Regions from separate parts of the Homo sapiens genome. Here all the other regions are linked to region 4. Evidence: promoter capture Hi-C in human tissues and cell types (Jung and others, 2019). All regions are on one chromosome and are shown on one strand. The core of a region is centred on a gene start or on the middle of the fragment in contact, and the rest is flanking DNA. Distances in the headings are between cores, read along the strand shown.

Region 1 (2,700 bases), core at 51-2,550, 530 kb before region 4:
ACTTGGGCTGAAAATAGTATAACATCAAAAATATGCTTTTTAAAATGTCACTTAAAGCCTAGGGGTACAGAAAGTTTATGTAGCAGAGAACAGTGGATTGTTACATTCTAATATTTTGTGATCTTCTAGACTTAAACTGTAGCCACTAATCATATCTGGATAAATTTAAGCTAAAATTAATTAGTATTTAATAAGCTTTAAAATTTAGTTGCTCAGTTTCACTACCCATATTTCAGGTGCTCAATAGCTACATGTGGCTAGAGTCTGCTGTACTGGACAGTGCAAATAAAAGCTTTTCCATTATCGAAGTAGGTTGTGATGGACAATCCGGTTCTACACATTTAGCAAGTACAGTTGACCCTTAAACAATATGGATCTGAACTGCACGGGTCCACTTATACACAAATTTTTTGAAATAAACATATTGGAAAATTGTTTTGACATTTGCAACAATTTGAAAAACTTAGCAAACTTGCATAGCCTAGAAATAGTGAAAAAATTAAGAAAAAATTATGCCATGAATGCATATGTGTAGATACTAGTTTATCATTTACTACCATAAAATATACACAAATCTATTATAAAAAGTTAAAATTTATCAAAACTTACACAAACACAGATCTTACATGGAGCTATTTGCAATTGAGATAAATGTAAACAAGCAAAGATGTAGCATTAAATCTTAGTTGCATAAAATTATCTGTAGTAGATACTGTACTACTGTAATAATTTTGTAGCCACTTCCTGTTGCTTTTGCAGTAAGCTCAGATGTTACCAGTATCTTCTTAAAATAATCACTCTGCTTTTGTCTGTCAAGTAAATTGCATATAGCAGTAAACAGATTTCATCAAATTTAATGCAATACCATAAACCTTAAATAACACCATGGGTCCCATATGACGTGCCACTGGTGATGCTGCAGGTGCTCCCAAGAAGCAGAGAAAAAAGACATTACAAGAAAAAGTTGATTTGTTTGATATGTACTGTAGATAGAGGTCTGCAGTTGGAGGTTGCCCCCCAACCCCATTTCAGACAGAGGATTCATCTTGTAATCAAATTATGTAAACTTATAGTATTGATAAATGCAGTGCAGTAGTGTAAATGTATTTTCCCTTTCCTACGACTTTCTTAATATTTTCTTAGCTTTATTGTAAGAATATAGTACGTAATATATTAACATACAACATATCTGTCAGTTGTTTATGTTATTGGTACGGCTTTCGGTCAGTAGTAGGCTATTAGTAGTTAAGTTTTTGGTGAATCAAAGTTAGGTGTGGGTTTTCGACTGCACAGGGGGTTGGTGCCCCAACCCAAGTATTGTTCAAGGGTCAGCTGTACGTCCAGATTTTGCAGGGTTCAATTTTACTGCAAAATGTCTTTTAGTTAATACGTAGGAGATTTAGATAAAAGGTCATAAAGCAAGGAATGTCTTTTGATTAATATTTTCTCTTTCTAATGGGTTTCAATTTTGTGATTCCCACAGATTTTGCTTAGATGACATTCTCATTAAGGTAAAAATGGATATAGCTCATTTGTATTGAATAGCAAAAATGTTAGTTTTATAACCCAGTCTTGTTACGAATGAAGCACCTCAGCACATAGAAAACACTAGAGTTGAAAAGCTGAAAGTCTTTTCAGAAACTTCTTACTTTTAGAAATAACGGGGTGAGATTTTTTAATATTGAGATTTAGAACTGATTTTTACAGGTGAGGATGTGGATAGACACAAAGCGGTAAGCAACTTGCTCAGGGTTACACAATCCAGTTGTGGTAGAATCTGACCTAAAATCCAAAATCGTTACCTAAAATTTTACTGTGCATTAATGAGGAGTTATACTAGTAACACAAATTTAATGTTAGGTATTTAATAAAGATTTAAAATGAATCAAGACAGGCCAGGCTTTGTTTCTGACAAGTTATGTTTTTTCTATTTGGATTTCCTAGAGTAGTTCAACTAGGTGCAGAGGAATGGGCCTGTGACCATGGCCTTTAGATCAGACCTGGTGTGGGCTCACCCTGATGACAGGTGACTAAATCAGAGTTGAGGTCACTGCTGACACCAGGTTTCTAGAGAGAGTTAGAGGTAGAGATACCACCATTGGGGAAAAATGGCTACTAAGTTTACTTTCTCCTCTTATCAGCAAGAGGATGTCACCTCCTGATGCTGACTTAGTTCAGAACCAAGGAGAGTCTGATTTTTGTAAAATACTCCTTCAAAGCAGGTTTGGCAGAGTTTCTTAAAAGGGCCAGGCAGTAAATATTTTAAGCTCTGAAGGCCAAGTGGTCTCTTGTTACAACTCATCAACTCTGCCCTTGAATGGAAGGAGCCTTAGGCTTTGTGTAATCAAATAGTGTGGCTTTGTACCAATAAGACTGTACAAAAACCAGGTAGCCAATGGGCCCCTGCCTTAAAGCAATTCTGATAGCGTAAGCATGTGCAGGATAGTGAAGTTAGCCCCAGTTATAAGGGTATAATAAGGATTGGACTATATTCTCAACTTTAGTAAGATCCCACCTATTTTAAGAGTCACTGGTGGATGTATGTTATGGCAGCTTTGCACACCATTAAGTAACCAGGGGTTTAAGGATCTCATCCTGCTCTGTGTAGTTACTTCTGTATCAAAAATTGACAGCTCTTGTAACCAATCTATAACTTATCTCAACTCACCCTTGCAACCTTGATATTACTTGGTGATAAGT
Region 2 (2,849 bases), core at 3-2,502, 700 kb after region 4:
TTTACAATTATGTATCTATGAAGAGATTTGGCTGAATAAAAGAAAACAGAGGAGCATGTGTTGCAATGGGTATGACAAGAAGGAAATTAATACGGTGGGAACAAGTCAATAACATAAGTAAAATAAAGCTTGCATTTAATAACACAAAATGTGCACAAAATGCTTAGAGAAAAATGATAATTTAGGGTAAAAACTCCATAGAAATATTTGAGTATGCTGTTTTTCTCATTATTATTAGTTAATTATCAAAATGTATCAACAGAAAATAATCAAATTGCTTGAATATACAAATTGTCCCAAATAAACCACATTGCATGACTAAAATTATTGAGCTTTTAGCAAATAAAAATGCAAAAACAACCTATCAAAACTAAGAGCTACCACAAAAGATGTACTCAAAAACTGTATGTTTTTTAAAAAAGAAAAATGCAGATTATGCTTTTGGTTAAAAAACAAAGTAATAAAACAAAATCAAAGAAATTAGAAGTAAAAAGTATATATTTATTGGTACTACTGCTACTAATAGTATCAAAACATTAAAAAGGAGCCTCATTATTTATTCTTATAAATATAAGCAACAAAATACATTAACTAAAATTCTGAAAAGTCTATTCTTAGAAAATGTAACAGTTTAAATATGTAATGTACATATTTGGTAAAATTAAAAATGGTTATTTGAAAAAGGAAAAAAATCCTTCTTACAAATAACTAAAGAAAATAGAGTAAATATAAAATGAACAAACTCTTACATTGATCAACTACGCAAATGTTACCAATAATATTTAGTGCACTTAAGGCGGGTACTCTCAAATACTGGTAGTCATGCAAATAGATAAAACTTTTCTGAACCATAACTTTACAATATATATAAAAAGCCCTAAAAATGTTGTGGTAAGCTTCATTTCTAAAGTCATATTTATTTAGGCAGAGGAAATATTCAAATAACAATCTATTATTACTATTACCATTATATTATTATTCATCTCATTGACAAATCAAAAACATTACTTAAAGATACCAGAGTGAAGTGGTTAATTTCACTATAATATTATCCAAATTATTTAGTTAGTTAAAAAAAAAGTTTTCAAAAACTATTAAAAGAAATAAACAATGTTCTTACTTGGTGTCAAGTGAAAATAACTCCTAGGATATTATACATAAAATATCAACTCAATTATGTAAAATGCATATATCCATACATAAACCACACAACCACATAAATCATCGCAGGTCCTAATTAAATAAAATATGTTTAAAAGCCAAGAGTTATTATCTCTGCATGATAATTTTATGGATAATGTTTATGTAGTTATTTATATAACTCTTTATTTTCTAAATATTTCACAAAGAACATATCTTTAGATTCAGAAATGAATAACAAAGAATGCTTGAAGATTTTTAGACAGAAGAAAGATTTTAGACAGAAGAAATGTCAGTTGGATTCTGGAAGAGTGAATCAGTACATAAAGTTCAATAACTTCAGGAGAGAAAGTATAAATTTATAATGATGTATGTAAGGTTTTAAATGGGTTGAAACTCATTTCAGTGGATCTCTGAAGGTAAAACATTGGAACAGTGTTTTAACATTTTCTCCCACGACACTGATAATGATCTCACAAAGTTGTTTATAATCATTTTATTGCATTCATCAGCTGAGACTAATTATAACTCAGATGAAAATCATCCTTGCAGAGTGCATTCTAAATATTAATAAACATAAATAATGCAAGTTTACTATTAAAGCGATTCAAAACAACAAACAGAACCCACAGGGAGTTTCTTAAAATTAATCTGGTTCCCCATAAATTCTGTCTTAATATGTTCAAAGCAACAATATCCCATACCACAGGATATATTAACTTTCTCCTTTCTTTTGTTCTGTTTTCTAATTTTATAGGACAAAATAATAGATGTGAGTGGTTGGCAGGGTAGGAAAACTTCAGTGGTAACTTATAGTAATGAAAATGAAACTAATATAAACATCAGTTGTCTAAGAAAAAGCCGAGAACCAGTTGCTCTTGATATTGATTTTCTAAAAATTCTGGAAGAATTTTTCCCCCTTTTCTAGACTGGCAAAAATGGACAACTGACAAGGATATGAAAACACAACTCTCTAACTTCAAATATTTATTTTAAATGATTGGGTTTCAAATCTCAGATAAATGGACACATTTTAGTTTTTAAGACAATCTCCTATCAGATTTTAAGGAGTCTTCGTTTTGATTGTCTTGGAGTTGAAAATATTATATCACATATCCAAAATGATTGGCTTTATGACCTTGAGCAAATTAACCTTTTGGATTTGACCTCTGATAATTGGCGATAAGATTTTCTCCCTCATAAAATTGTTAGTAATATTAAACATGATATGATATTTTAAACACAGAATACACACTTTATTTATGCCCATTTCTATTATTACCACCATATTTTCCTTTCTGGCTGTATTTGCCATTACAGTTTACTGCCATTACTTTCCTGTGTTATAGGAGTCATTAAATTTAAAGAAACATGTGGATACCAGTTTCAACTTTGCACTTAATATGTGATTTCACTTTTGACATCCTCACTCTCTTCATTTGTTAAATGCCATTAACAACACTTGACATAGCTACTCCAAATACATTGGCAAGGATCAAATAAAACTAATGATTAAAAAGACTACTTGTAAACTCTAAAATACTATTCAAAGGATTATTTCCTATTCAAATACACTCCATGTATTCATGCTACTATCAAAGATACACAATGCCAAAAACTTAGGCACAATCTGACATTAAAAGAACAAATGCTTCCAAACATTTGAATATTACAATATTTCTCAATGCTTTAACATATCATAGTGGTAA
Region 3 (2,785 bases), core at 122-2,621, 630 kb after region 4:
GGACATCAAGATGGCAGCAGCATATATGCATGGTCAACCCAGTCCTTGTCAAGAAGATGCAAAACTTAGAAGTCCAATGGCCATCAAAATCATACAAAAAACCACACAAACAAACTGAATATCTTACAAAATAAACGACGTTAAATGTATATGGAATGGTGTTACTTGGAACAAAAACTGGTTTTGTTACCGCACAGGAACCCTGAGTACTTTGACTCTTGTGTAAGTAAAAATAAGAGACCAAAGGGAGGTATTTTTTTCCCTTCAGGAAAAGTTTGTAACCGCCCACTAGGCAGTGGGCAGTTCACCTTGCCCGCTGCTGATTTATCGGCTCTAGACAGAGCAGATTTATGAAGACAGGGAAATTGCAATAGAAAAAGAGTAATTCATGCAGAGCCAGCTGTGTGGGAGACCGGAGTTTTATTACTACTCAAATCAGTCTCTGGAGCATTCAGGGATCTGAGTTTTTAAAGATAATTTGGTGGGTAGGGGCTCCGGAAATGGGAAACACTGGTTAGTAAGTTTAGAGATGGAATCATCTGGAGTCTAAGTGAGTTTTTGTTGCTGTCTTCTGTTCCTGGTGGGATTGCAGAAGGGGTTGAGTTAGATTACCTGTCTGGGTGGTGTCAGCTGGTGCATGAGTGCAGGATCTGCAAAATATCTCAAGCATTGATCTTAGGTGTTACAATACTGATGTTATTCACAGGAGCAATTTGAAGAGGCTCAAACTCTTGCAACCAGGGACTGAATGGCCCCTAAATAATAATTCCTAATCTTGTAGCTAATTTGTAAGTCTTACAAAGGCATACTGGTCGTCAGGCAAGGAGGGTTTTTTTACTTGTTTGTTTTTGTTTTTCAGGTAAGGAATATTATCAATTTTGTTTTCAGAGTTAAACTATAAACTGAACTCCTTCCCAAGGTTAGTTCAGCCTATGCCCAGGAATGAATAAGGACAGCTTAAAGGTTAGAAGCAAGATGAAGTTGATTAGGTCTGATCTCGTTCATTGTCATAATTTCCTCAGTTATAATTTTTGCAAAGGCGGTTTCAGGTTTAGTAAGCTTGTGTCTCCAATGCACAAGGGAGGAGTGCTGGGGAAAGTGAAACAGATGCCAGGTCCCCAAGGGGCTTGGCCTTTGTCACTTTAAGGAAGCTGAGGCAAGAAAAGGGAATAACGCAGAAACATGTTTAGGTGGACCTTTCTCCTGCCTTGTGCAGTAAGATGTCATGCTCTAATATGCACTGCAGGACCATATAAGGCCTGTCTTGGGCAAAGAATTTAGCATTATGATGAGAGTGTAATGAGGAGAGTCAGTGAAAGGACAGCGCCAGAGTCCATCTTGTATTTATGCCACTGCATCTGGTCAGATTCTTATCTAGAATGCCAGAGTGTTGCTTCAGTGACTTCGGCAAACATTGCCCAAAAGAGACAAATGGTTAGGATTTTCCTTTTATGGTTAGGAATTTAGCCCAGTCAGCTAAGTTAGGAGACTCTTCCTGCTATGTGATTTGGTTTAGCTTCTTAAGGAAGGCAAGAAGGCAGGGGAGGGAATATACCCAGGCACGTAAGACCCATCCGGACTTTGGTTACCATTTCACCTATGTGACTTGTCAGGATCAAGTCTCTTCCCTATACTGCCTCAGTTGCTCTGGAGTATTGGCAAACTTCATTTACAGACACTGCTTCAAGTTTCTGATACTTTGAAGACATATGCATCATTGACTGCACTTTGATTTTAGCCTACTAAAATTGCTTACAAACTCCTTGTAACTGATGCTTTGTATTCAGATAATATAAGGAAGGAAAACTGTGTTCTCAGAAGTTCACTGATTGGCATAGCATGTATAGCCCAGTGTTTGTTTTTTACTAAAAATGGACATCTGACACCATCAAGTATCATGCTGTTCCACTGCCATTAAAAGGAAGGATTTTACTCCATTGATTACTGCTTTGTCAAACAGAGGTGAAAACAATGGTAATTCCTCTAGTCTTTTAGACAATGATTGGATTATTATTATTTGTTTTTTGAGATAGGGTCTTGCTCTGTCACCCACTCTGGAGTACAATGGCATGATCTCAGCTCACAGCAACCTCTGCCTCCTGAGTTCAAGTGATTCTCCTACCTCAGCCTCCAGAGTAGCTGGGATTACAGGTGGGCACTACCACACCCAGCTAATTTTTTGTATTTTTTCAGTAGAGTCAGTGTTTTGCCATGTTGGCCAGGCTGTTCTCTAACTCCTGGCCTCAAATGATCCACCCACTTTGGCCTCCCAAAGTGCTGGGATTACAGGTGTGAGCCATCAAGCCCAGCCAACGATTGGAAGGTTAAGTAGTCTCAGCATTATGCAGTATTTGGAAGGACACTTGAGTGTATGAAGAGTAACCAGATAATGAACGTGTACTCTCAGAAGAATGGTTTTTTTTTTTTTTTTTATGATGAGACATTGCTGAAAGAGTTAAAAGTAACTTTGAACAGACCATTTGTTTCTGTTCCTTTTGCCTGATACATAGTGGATACTCAATAAATATCCAATAACTCAATCAATTTAAAAAAGAAAGAAAGAATGGAAATAAAAGAAACTAGTAAAAGTGATTCAGGGTCAGGGGCTGGGCCATTCAGGCTAGAGGAAAACAACGAGGTCCATTTTACTCCAGCCTAGTTTATTTTATTTGACATTAAATGACATTAGTATATTAATCATTAAAATAGGCATTTACTATGTGAAAAGCACATGTCCTACCCTCAAAGTCATTCCAGTATAACAGAGAAAAAAGAGAAACCAACA
Region 4 (2,868 bases), core at 176-2,675:
TTTATCTGACAAAAGAGCCGGAGCCCATGACTCTCCGACTGTGAGCAGTGTGGCCTTTCCAAGCCTCCAGAACTTTCTCATTACAACTTTTCCGGGGTCGCACTACTCCCTGGGCCGCGCGGGCTCGGGCACGAGGACCTGGCCAGGGCGCAGCGCCGGCACGAAGGCGCGCGCCGCAGAACTGTTTCCTCAGCCGCGTGCCGGGGAACTAACTGTTTCCTCAGCCGCGTCCAGCCTCGCAGCACTGCTCTTCTGCTTGCTACTCCAGCGAAGGGACATGCCTGCTGGCCAGGACGCTTAGTGGGCCTCGTAACCTGGCGAGTGTGTGCCCGCGCGTGTCCACCCTGCCCCCGGCCGGTGCGCCCCGCGCGCCCAAACCCGGCCGGCGACCACTGCGCGCCGGGCGCTTCCAAACTGCTCCTGTCCAGAGGCATCCCTCTTTCGGCTTTCTCCATCCCGCGTCCGCTTCCGCACCCGAGAGCGACAAGCAAAAAAGATTCAGTGCAACTCAAGGACTGGTAAGAACCAACTAGCCTGTCTCCCCTCTCCAAAAAAGCGCCCTCCCGCGTCCCTCCAGAACTCCCGAAAGACATCAACACCTTCCCGCAACTTTCTACGCCCAGGCCATTTGCAGCCCCACCTGCGAGAGCGAATTCGGGGAACTGCGCCTGGGCAACCTCTTTCCCTTTCTGCTGGGTGCCCTCCCCTCCCCCATCTCCCCGTCTGGCTGGAGTTGGCCGGACTCGGGGAGCCTCGGTGCCCGCAGACTCGCTTACCTCGCATGGTGTGGCCGCTCTCCCGCTCCGCGTAGTCATGAAGCTGCTCCCAGCCCGAACCCCGGAGAGCCCAAAAATCCCGCTCAGCACGAGTGAAGAAGGTGGTCGGCGAAGAGCTGCTCTGCCGAGAAAACCATCCCTTTAGGCGGACGCCGTGGCTGCAGGGTGACGTTTGCCGCCGCCGCCGCTATGTTAACAGTTTTGATGTTGGTGGTGACTGTTTTGATGATTGTTTGTTTGTTTGTTTGTTTTCAGGAAGGGTGAAAAAAAAATGTTCTGGCTGTCTGGTGCCTGGGTTTTGTTTTGGTTTTGTTTTTCTTTTTCTTTCTCTCCAATGTGCTTGCTTTTTAAAAAATGCCACCGCCTCCGGCTCAGAAGATTTCTTTTGTGATCACTTGGACTGAGGAGGAGGAGGAAGGGCAGCAGCAGGAGGAGGAGTTGGTGGTGGTTTTGTTAGTTACAAAGAAGAGGGAGAAGGAACAAGGGGGAAAAAAGGAAACAGAAAGAAAAGAAAGAAAGGCGGTGTGGATGGCAGAGCATGTGCGTTTTCACATGACATCTGTGCCTGTTAGCGGATCCACAATGTGAATTTTCACTGTTCAGTTACAGGGAGGAAGGGAGCAGCGAGAGAGAAAGAGAGGGGAGAGATGGAGAGAGAGCGCTGAGAGGGGCTTATACGCGAGGGCGGGCTTGGCCGCGACTTCCAGGCCCCGCCTGCTGTCAGCGCAGCCGCCAATCAGAGCCCAGCAGCGCCTGGAGAGGCTGGGACCGCGGGGAGGGGACGTGGTGGAGGCGGGGGGTGGGGCGGGGGCTGGGGACCAGGGAGTCCGAGGTGGCCGGGGCTGCGACGGGGAATTCGAGACTGTCCGAACTGGGCAGAGAAGAAGGGCCGACCGGGAGAGTCGGGCAGATCCGCAGGTGACAGGCACTTCCGACTCCAGCAGAGAAGGGGACACTGATCACGGAAAACCTTCGGAGGCAAGAGACGCGGGGCTCCCCGGGTTTCACGTTCGGTCCCTGTCTCGCAACCCCCGCGGGCCCGGCAGAGTTAGTTTTGAATTTATGGCAGCGCTTTGCCGAGCGCTATTTGGGTAAACTTCGGTCTCCGGCGGGGGTTTCCGTGGGCAGGTGGTTTGGGTGTTGGTGGTAGAATAATGCAAACCCACTTTCATCACTTTTAGCACAACTAAAATGCAGTCCCATGGAAGTAGCTGTCCCCTTCCTTTAAAAACGTCCGTCAGATGCTCCCTGACCCTCTTCTAAAAAAAAAAAAAAAAGAAAGAAAGAAAGAAAAAAACGTGTATATGTTCTTTTGTCTGGGAAATTGATTTTTATTAGCATTTGGAGACTCCCCTGGCGATGGACTACAGGACTGAAGGAGAACAGCTCAAATTGGCGGTGTAGCCACCTTACTAATTCAAGAGAAATGGCTGTTGCTAGAAGGTGTGATTGCAGGGTGCTCTTTAGAAAGGTTTTAGAAGGAAGACATTGTTAACTTTAGTTAGAGGCGATTGGTAACTGAACATAGATAAACTTACTTGTATTCCTTAGGTGAAAATTGTCATCTATGACCATTTATTTGTATTTTGATAAAAATCTAATACATATATCCAAACTGTTCCTTTGCAAGTTTTTCCAACTCAGTTGACAAAATAAGCATATAGATGATTACATCTACTTCCTTCCCAATAGTAGGGAACTTCTTAAATACTTGAGTTAATTGAACACCCTAAAAGATTGGGAGGTGAAAATATTTGCCTCATTCACTCAGTCTTGAGGCTGGGAGATGTCTACTCATTAGCATACCTGTTGGCACAGCAGGCCTCATCATCATTTAAGTATCCAAATAATTTGATTTTTGACTGGTATTTATTCATGATATGTCATGTAACACAAAGTACAATGTAGAATTGGCAGTTATTTAGTTAATTAGGTCGCTCTACACTGCCAAGTAGTTTTTTCCTTCCTGATTAAATGAAAAATGAATTATCTGCTGAATTTTCACCAGTATTAAATTGACGTAGCCCTGCTATATGCCATCCCATTTGCAAACCAATGTGTAATTTAGGAAAATTTTAGTATTAAGAGTGAA
Region 5 (2,883 bases), core at 36-2,535, 860 kb after region 4:
ACATATATATGCACATGTATACACACACACTGGATAATATTTAAAGGGAATCCATAATATTCTCATCATGATGAATCATATACAGACAATAAATACATTATCAAAAGCTAAACAAAGTTTTCCATGTCAAGCCCTAAACATCCTAAGCAAAGATATTTGAAGTTGCCTCATCAAAGAAAATTCATTAATTCTGAAACATTTTTGACATATTAAAAGTAAACATTACTCGTCTGATCGCCCATTACTCTCCCAGGCTAGACACTTCTGTTTTAGACCTTTGAATAAAATGTGGTTTCTTTTGCTCATAAAAAAATGTATATTTTAATAATACCTATAATTCATTCTTTTTTATGATATTTTTGTGAGGGCATAGCTATTGTTTATTATGCCAGAAATTGATAATAGCTTAGATGGGTTGTGATAAGTAATCACATAAATTATATGATAAATAATCACATAATTTACCAATTTCTGACATTTTTTGTCCTCAAAATAGTATTTGAATATGTCTATTTCCATTGCCATTATCACAGTAAAGCCACTGTCATCTCTTACATGGATTGATTCCATGATTTCTTAACTGTTATTCCCATTTTTACTTTATCTCTGCTTCAGGCTCTCATTACACAATATCCAGAGTCAATTATTTAAGCTACTACTCTCAGACTTAAAAGCTGGCAGTGGCTCCACATTGCATTAAGAATAAAATCCACACTGTTAAATATACCTTACAAGGACCTGTATGATCCAGCCACTAGACACATCACCAATATCATTTTAAGGTCTTTTTTTACCCTCTCTCTTCTCCAGCTGTGTCGGTATTCTTTGATAATTTCAATGTTGTTAAAATCCTTCCTGCTTCAGTGTTCTCTGAACACATGTTTTCCCTCCTGCCTTTAATACTCAGTCTCCACGCTCTTCATTTGACTGGTTCTTTCTCAAACTTCAAGTCTTGCTTTCTTAATAAAGCTTTCCCTTGCCACTTTCTATAATTTAGCTTCCCTTGACCACTCTTTTATATTAATATTATCATCTTCAGGGTACATCACACATACTAATTCTATGTTTGTTTCCTTGTTCTTTACTTTCTTATCTCTCCTGAACTTTGATTATTGGGGATTGACACCATATTGATTATATTTACCAGTGTTTATACGGCATCTGGGACAGGGCTTCCATTTCACACAGATCTATAGAATACAGTGTAAATGATACCACTGTATGGCAACTCTGACACAAGTTATATATGCACGTGTGCATGTGCACAACCATATATGTATACACTTACATTCATATATACATACATGTGTACATATATGACCATTAATACATGCATGTTGAATGAGAGCATAAAAGCAATATGCTTAATTTTTAATTCAATAGTTATATATATAATTAATTCTTACATTTCTTAGCTTATAAATAGCTATGCATCCTCATTATAAGCTTATATACATAGAAAGATGGATCACAAACTACAGGGTTATATATATGATATCTTTTTTTTGAGACATAGAAAGACTACCACTTTTATCTGCTTATTATAGATATCATTTTGTCCATAGTAAATTAAGGGTCAGAAATTCAAGGTTTATTGATTTCCAGAAACATTCCATCAAAGTGCCTGATGTAACATTTGTCTTATCATCTGGCTTGAAACCATGACATCAAAACACTGATTCCTCTCTTATGTGCATCCACCCTGTTTCAGCATCATTGATCATCCTGTTAAGCTAAGATAGAGAGTTATTTAAACTAGAAAATTTGAGGGTCAGTTGTACATATTGAAAATCTATGATATAGTTTCAGAACTATTGGACATTGTTACATAATTTTATAGGCATGAAGGAGTGTACAAAGTAACTGTTGGTATGGTTGATCAAAAATATGAATAGATCCAAAGAAGAGCCTTTACAGGCACTCATCCTTAGCTATTATGTTCTTGTTGAAATATATTGAATGTACTCAATATAACCCAAATTAAAAATCAGCCAGCTATGAAAATATTGCTGCTGGTATTACTAATGGTGTATAAACATACTCATTATCAATCCACAATAAAACATAAAAAAAATCAGAGGACATTAATTTCTCTAGTCCCACGGGACTGATTAAAATTGATATGCACACATATATACACACAGACAGCTGTTAAAGCCAAGCATAACGTAGAAATATGTATTTAAATTATCTAGGAATTACAGTTGTTCATTTTCATCACAAGATAATCAATAACAATTGTCATAGGGTCAAAGGAGATCCTTCTATCACTGCTGCCTGGCCATAGAATATATTCACCATTATATTTCTTCGAATCACTTATTTCTTCTGAAATTACTACCAGTTCAAGCAATGTTCAAGCTTCTCCATGAAATGCTGTCTCTACAAAGATTTTTATAATAAAAAATATGTGATCAGCAGTTAGCCCTTCATTGCTAATGGCTCTGTTGTCTGAGAGATAACAGGTACAATGATAGATCTAAATCTGAGACACTTTCTCACATTTAAGACACTTGTAATATCCAAAACCTTTAAATGAATACTGAGTTATTCCACCAAACTGTACACATACAAGGCATAATGTTTATTATTGTCTAAAAAGAAAGGGGAGAATTATTGCTAACAGGAATCACTAATAAGTCCACAAATAGTTTTAGAAAATATTAAATAAAGATGGTGATTTTGTTTGCTTATTTAAGAATAGTTCACATATACTAAGTGTTTTACTTGTGCCCACCTCTGTTCTAAGCATGTTTACAGTGTTTTATGTCTTGTTTATATATCTTTTAATCCTAACAACAGTCCTCTTTTACATGTAAGAAAACTGAGGCCCAGATAGTTATTATATTTGCTCAGTACACAAACAGTTAGCAAGTAGTATGG

What was found. The method cuts DNA at HindIII sites, captures the fragments that hold promoters and counts their contacts. A contact is called where the count stands out against the background at its distance.
Region 1: a contact is called between a fragment that was not itself captured here and the fragment with the promoter of RORB in region 4, in 1 of the 25 tissues and cell types used here (dorsolateral prefrontal cortex).
Region 2: a contact is called between a fragment that was not itself captured here and the fragment with the promoter of RORB in region 4, in 2 of the 25 tissues and cell types used here (H1 embryonic stem cells and dorsolateral prefrontal cortex).
Region 3: a contact is called between a fragment that was not itself captured here and the fragment with the promoter of RORB in region 4, in 3 of the 25 tissues and cell types used here (dorsolateral prefrontal cortex, lymphoblastoid cells and mesenchymal stem cells).
Region 5: a fragment that was not itself captured here is called in contact with the fragment with the promoter of RORB in region 4 in 5 of the 25 tissues and cell types used here (dorsolateral prefrontal cortex, heart left ventricle, lymphoblastoid cells and 2 more).

What each region holds. Positions count from the first base shown.
Region 1 is chr9:75,023,408-75,026,107 of GRCh38, reverse strand. All of the region lies in intron 1 of CARNMT1 (carnosine N-methyltransferase 1), which reads left to right. Among named protein-coding and RNA genes, the nearest start is that of CARNMT1, 3.5 kb to the left of the region's middle. RefSeq lists an enhancer at 1,977-2,026. The HindIII fragment of the contact is 3,046 bases long and covers 1-2,700 here.
Region 2 is chr9:73,792,517-73,795,365 of GRCh38, reverse strand. No RefSeq gene overlaps it. Among named protein-coding and RNA genes, the nearest start is that of ANXA1, 640 kb to the right of the region's middle. The HindIII fragment of the contact is 4,480 bases long and covers 1-2,849 here.
Region 3 is chr9:73,870,478-73,873,262 of GRCh38, reverse strand. It overlaps the pseudogene LOC100420008. Among named protein-coding and RNA genes, the nearest start is that of RORB, 630 kb to the left of the region's middle. The HindIII fragment of the contact is 7,230 bases long and covers 1-2,785 here.
Region 4 is chr9:74,495,892-74,498,759 of GRCh38, reverse strand. RORB (RAR related orphan receptor B) reads right to left here and starts at 1,425. Exons shown (of 10, transcript NM_006914.4): 1 at 777-1,425. The coding sequence starts at 783. RORB-AS1 (RORB antisense RNA 1) reads left to right here and starts at 207. Exons shown (of 5, transcript NR_125791.1): 1 at 207-518. RefSeq lists silencers at 1,193-1,487, 1,392-1,581, 1,577-1,789. The HindIII fragment of the contact is 7,823 bases long and covers 1-2,868 here.
Region 5 is chr9:73,632,146-73,635,028 of GRCh38, reverse strand. No RefSeq gene overlaps it. Among named protein-coding and RNA genes, the nearest start is that of ANXA1, 480 kb to the right of the region's middle. The HindIII fragment of the contact is 4,485 bases long and covers 1-2,883 here.